2 separate regions of the Homo sapiens genome follow, and region 1 is linked to region 2. Evidence: promoter capture Hi-C in 16 types of primary human blood cells and fetal thymus (Javierre and others, 2016). All regions are on one chromosome and are shown on one strand. The core of a region is centred on a gene start or on the middle of the fragment in contact, and the rest is flanking DNA. Distances in the headings are between cores, read along the strand shown.

The links. The method cuts DNA at HindIII sites, captures the fragments that hold promoters and counts their contacts. A CHiCAGO score of 5 or more calls a contact.
Region 1: the fragment with the promoter of SMARCC1 here is called in contact with the fragment with the promoter of CSPG5 in region 2 in 1 of 17 cell types (endothelial precursors); the score reaches 5.6 in endothelial precursors.

Annotation. Positions count from the first base shown.
Region 1 is chr3:47,780,434-47,783,314 of GRCh38, forward strand. SMARCC1 (SWI/SNF related BAF chromatin remodeling complex subunit C1) reads right to left here and starts at 1,460. Exons shown (of 28, transcript NM_003074.4): 1 at 1,170-1,460. The coding sequence starts at 1,364. RefSeq lists silencers at 934-1,173, 1,354-1,573, 1,984-2,033, 2,144-2,203 and an enhancer at 1,406-1,700. The HindIII fragment of the contact is 14,461 bases long and covers 1-2,881 here.
Region 2 is chr3:47,577,561-47,580,364 of GRCh38, forward strand. CSPG5 (chondroitin sulfate proteoglycan 5) reads right to left here and starts at 1,305. Exons shown (of 5, transcript NM_006574.4): 1 at 1,037-1,305; 2 at 1-368. The coding sequence starts at 1,133. RefSeq lists silencers at 516-605, 656-715, 756-805 and an enhancer at 1,930-2,634. The HindIII fragment of the contact is 13,333 bases long and covers 1-2,804 here.

The sequences.
Region 1 (2,881 bases), core at 210-2,709, 200 kb after region 2:
CGCGCCCGGCCAGAAATGGTCATTTCTGAATGTACCACGTGTAATGCCAAAGGAACCCAAGATCCCTGCCCATGCCTAATAACTGCCAAACACTGACAGGCTTCACTGAGCTGCTGAGGCCAAAAAAATAGGTTCCTAAACTAGTTTATGTTTTCATTCATTCAACAAATATTTACTAAGCAGCCACTAAGGGTAAGGCAATAAGTATCAGCCACGTTCCCGGATACACTGCAGTGAACAAAGCCCTTGCTTCAGTGCTATGATTCTCAATAGGAGAAAGTACAGAACTAAAGAGGGTGATAGGAAAACTTCAGAGGCTGGGGAGCCTTTTCGGCTACCTGCTTCATTACACCCTTTAAGGGAGTCCTCCTGAATATTTACACAAAAGGGAAGTTGGAAAAAAAAAAAACATTTGTTATAAACAAAGGATTAAGTCAAAACTTTGAAAACTACTGACTCGGCGGAACTTCCGTTCCAAAGGTAGGAGAAATCAGTAAATGAATAATTTCAAAATGTGGTAAACACTACGAAGAAAATAAAGGTGACACAAGAAAAGTGCTCTAATAAAAACTGGGTTCTTGGGGAAGGCCTCCCTTTAGAACACTTTACGTACAAGCGACCATCAACTCTCACGCCACACAGAACCAGAAGCACGATGAGGTAGAACCGTCGTTAATAGTTCTCATCCATCCTAGAATTCATATTGCCTGTTATTAATTAACGAATACAATCATCCCAGTCGTTTAGCAATTCAACAACAGGTAGCAAACCCCCTCGAGACTTTGAATACGCTCTAAACAAAACTTGAAGCTGCTTTTACCACGCTTGCTCGGTCTTTAGGGATCATTGTTCACACACCTAAGGCAGCTGACAAAAGAGAGAGAGTCACACTCGCTTAGTGGCTGAGCTCGACCTGCTCTGGCACACGAGACTGAGCAGGGGCTTTCACCATGGGTGCGTAGGCTCAGAGGAGAGAGCCCCGAACCCCAGTCAGGCCCCGGGATCGCGGGCGCCCAGAGCGGGCGGCGGGGGCGTGGCGGGCCCGGCGCCTGCCTTTGTTGTCCCTCGTGGCGTGCGGGGGGGAGGGGCGGCCCGAGGCCCGCGAGGCCAGCTGCCGCCTCCGGCCCCGGTCGCGTGGTCTCCCGGCCCCCACGGGCGCGCGAACCCACCTTCTTGTAGTGCTTGCCCAGCCAGACCCGCACCGAATCCAGCTGGGACACCGTCTCCGGGCTCTCCCAAAACTTGGTGGCCGGGCCCCCATCCTTCCGTCGATAAACAGCTAGGCCTGCGGCTGCCGCCGCAATCCCCGAGCCCGTGGCGCCTACCGCTGTCCCCGGCCCGCCGCCGCCCGCCGCTGCGGCCATCGTCGCAGCCCGTCGTCCCCACAGCCTGGCCCACCCCGGCCCTCGCGGTGTTTCCCGGTCGTTCCCGCGCGCACCCCCGCGCGCGTAGCCGCCACTGCCGCTTCCCGGCCCCGCCCAGCCAACCCTCTTCCGGCGCGGACGCCCGGCCCCGCCCCATCTGGGAACTGGCACTGTATCTGACGCGAGCCAGCGCACGCGCATGCGTAGCACTCGTGCGGCCGTGCCTTGGAATAGCACGTCCTGCGGCCTCAGCCGCCTCTTCCGCCATCCTCCGTAGGCTGCATTCTGCCCTAGTGAGCGCCGGTTTTTGAGCCTTGCTCTTCCCTCGCTACCGACGTCGAATCATTATGCGGTCAACAACCGCAGGTGGGTTATGTGTCATAGCCCGCCTCCGCTGGAGGGAAAAGGCCTGGTGCGAGAAATGCCCAAGGGAAAGCCTGTCTAGGGTATCGAGTGCTGGCCGAGGGCCCTGCACCCGGACTGGGACTGCGCCGGGCCCCGCTTTCCCTCAGGCCCTCCACCCCCAGCGGCCCGGCGGCATTTGTGAACAGCCATCTGGGACTCCCACGCCTAGGCTTTTCGGCTTCACAGACCTTCCACTCCCTCAGGGGTCCAGCCACAGCGGCTCATTCCTGCCCCAGGGGCCCTTGCACTGGCTCTTTCGAGACCTCAGCAGGTCTTCCCTTCTGATTTGCACTTACGAGACGCGTTCAGATTCACTGCTTCAAAGGACTTCAGAAAGTAGTTGTCAGATCTTAACAATCTTGAACAACTGTTCACACCCATACACTTTCTGCATAGCGCTCACCACGACCCGGCGTTTCTAGTTTCTCATTTACCTTCCACATAAATTACATGAGAACCTAATCTTAACTTGTTCACAGGTGTATCCTGAACACCTGAGACAAGGAACAGATGTACAGTAAATACTTGATGAGTTAATGAATGGCCCACATAGAAGCCGAAAATTTTTAAATTATTAACAAGGTATATTGGCCGGGTGCGGAGCACTTTGGGAGGCTGAGGCGGGAGGATCAATTGAGCCCAGGAGCTCTAGACCACCACACCCATCCCCGTCTCTACAAAAAATACAAAAATCAGCCAGCGTTGTGTTGCAAGCCTGTGGTCCTAGCCTCTTGGAGGGCTGAGGTGGGAGGATCCCTTGAGCTGGGGAGATGGAGGCTGCAGTGAGCTATAATCGCGCCACTCACTACACTTCAGCTTGGGCGACAGAGCGAAACCCTGTTTCAGAAACATAAAAAGTATGACTGGCCATAATGGAGTTGTGAACATAATGCTATATGATCGCAGAGAAGCAAGTAACTAATTGCTTGTGAGAACGTGACTAACTGCTGGTAAGTTTCTGAGATCTTTTAAAAATGAGGGTGTGTACATGTTTTCAGGATCTCCTGAGGGCTGTGTCACGGACAGTAAAATATATTAAATAAAAAAGTTAATAGAATGTGATCAAGAGGGCCAGGCGAGATAGCTCACGCCTGTAATCCCAACACTTTGGG
Region 2 (2,804 bases), core at 55-2,554:
GGGGGAGGGTGGCCCGCTGGCCTCTGTAGCCTCAGGAATGGCAGGGGGCATGATTGACTGCCCGAGGACCTCGTGGGGAGCCTGGAGCGTAGCTGGAAGGGCCTGGGCATCGCCGCTGCCCGCCTCTGCGGTCACTCCTCCCAGGCCTGGGCTGTCAGCTTCCAGCCAGGCGGTGCCGGTCACCGCAGCCGACTCCTGCAGCACCTCTTCTGGCCCGGCCAGCTCGCCACCGGGCGCCGTCCACGACGCCTCATCTTCCCCAGCCGCTGGTGGGCCGGCTTCTTCCCGCGTGTCGTTGGCAGGCGGCTCCCACGCCGGGCTGCCCTTCACCAGCTCTTCGGCCTCAACCGCGCTGCCCGCCTCACGCGCTGCGGGCGGGAGGGCAAGGGGCGGGACGTCAGGGCGGCGCGCTGAGGAGCCCTGGAGCCCCGGCCCGCCCCGGTCAGGCCCGCTCGCCTAGACCTGGTCAACCCAGACCTCGCCACCCTCAGACCCCACCGCCCCAGTGTGACCCCAGCCACCCGGTACCTCTAAGCCCCGTCCCGGAGTCTGCCCCCAAGACGAGGATCACACCCCGCCCAACGCCTCGCGGCTCGGCCCCGCCCGACCTGCCCCGCCGTCTGAAGAGCCAGGCCAGGGCGGCCCCCAGCTCGGCCCACCCATAAGTCTCACCCTCGGGAACCCACCCTGAGCCGCGTCCACTGGCTCCCGCCCTCAGCTCCAGGTCCCGCCCCGAAGTCTCACCCTCAGGCCCCGCCCCGGCCCCGCCCCGGCCCCGCCCCCGGCCCCGCCCCCAGTCCGCACCGCGGCCCGCGCGCTTGGGTCCCGGCTACCCCAACCGGGGTCGGCCCCCACGCGGGTCGGCCTTTCCCGGACCCCCACCACCTCCTGGGACCATTCCGCCGCCCGGCCGCGGCCAGGCGGTGCCCCGCCCCCTTGCCACAGCTCACAGCTCCACCTGTCCCCGCCGCCAGCGGGACCCCTGCCCTGGGTGGGGCACGAGGGCCGCGGGGGTCCCGGGCGCAGTCATACCTACCCGGCACGGCCCCAGAGGCCAGGACCAGCGCGGCCCCCAGAAACAGCAGCAGTGGCGGCGGCCCCCGGCCCGGGCCCCCGCCCCCGGCTCGCCCCATGGCGCGGCGCCCCGACCGCTGTCCGCGGTCCGCCCGGCTGGCTGCGCCCTCGGCTCGCCCGGCCGCCGCGCCTCCCGCCGGTTCTGCGGCCGCCTCAGCCCACGATGGGCAGCGCGAGGAGCCGCATGCCGCCGCCGCCGCCGTCCGCCGCTGTCCCCGGCGCGCCGCGCCTCCCCGCCTCCCGCGCCGCCGCTGCCGCCGCTGCGCTCAGCGCCGCCCTCACCCCGCCCGCCGCGCCGGCCCCGCCGCACGTAGCGGTGACGCCGGCCCCTTGGTCAGCCTGCCAGGGGAACAGACAGACCCCTCGCTGGGGACTAGGAGACACACGGACGGGGAGTGCGGGGCAGGCGGACGGGGAGCGCGAGGCAGGCGCACGGCGCGGCGCGCGGCGTTAGGCGGCAGGTGCACGGGCGGGAGACCTGTGGGATGGGGCCACGGTCCCGCCCCAGGTGAACAGGCGGCACGGGGCCCCGACCCGGAGGAACCCACCCGCCACGCGGCAAGCACGGAGGCGGGGACGTCGCGGGCCCAGTTACCCGCAGGGTCGGGGCGGGGTCCAGAAGAGCCGCAGGGGGCGGAAGCACGAGCCCCCACTGTGGAAACAAGCCAGGCCCGGGGCGCATGGAGCCTCTCGGATTCTGCACCAATCCCGTGTTCCGGGCGGGAAGGCTCTCAGGGAGGTCTCCGGGTCTCCACGAGGGAGGGGCGGGCGTTGGCAGAGCCTGGCAAGGGGGCGAAGCCGACCGCCCAGGCTCTAATCGGATCAGATCTAATCCGTTCGCAGCCAAAGCCACTAGCCTAGATCTCGCACAGCCAGGCCCGCCATAACGCATCCCGGGAGCAAGGGGTAAGACCCTCCCTGGGACTGCGGCTACCTCGCCTTCCTTCTAGTCTCCGGGCAGCCTGGGGAGCGGCCTTTAATCCTGGTCCCTTCTCCGGGATACGTCGTCCCCCAGGTGTCTCAGACCACCAAAACTCAGGTTCCTGGGTAGACCAGGGGGGTCTAGATCCCCAGCCGGGCACACATGGATGCTTGGCTTTAGAGTGATCTGTGGGGCCCATTCACAGCTTCAGGGCTCACAGGGCAACCCAAGACCACGCACCAGGAGGTCTGCTTAGTCGGCAGGAGGAACCGCAACCTAGTTACTTAGTTTATTCCCCCAAACCGACCGTCTACCCCTTAATGTGTTACTCACCCAAATGACAGTTCAGGGTATCAGCCCAAGGAGATAGGACAACTCCAGTATTTAAGAGACGGTCCCATTGCTGTCTTAGAAGACCAAATAAGTGACCAAGATGGAGATTCTATCTCCTAATCTTTCTGATACATATCTCCAGATGGAGTTGCCTTGGTTCAAAACCTGTTTCTCAGCAGAACTATGGCTGCAGCCTATTTGCCTAGCCTAGCGTCTCCACCTCTCCTGCCTGGTAAACTCCTCATGCCAGAAAAACTCAGTTCTTATCACCTTTCCCTCTATGAAGGCTTCTCAGCAGTTACACTTAATGCCCATCATCTCATCTTATCTACAGTTATTCCTCACTGGACTGCAAGGCACTTGAGTGCACAGGGCTGGTAACAGAGGGAGGCTCCATATCAGACAGGCATAAATGAACGAATGGCAACCACCCACACCCATCCCAGAACTGTGGTCTGGAGAGCCTTGAAAAAAG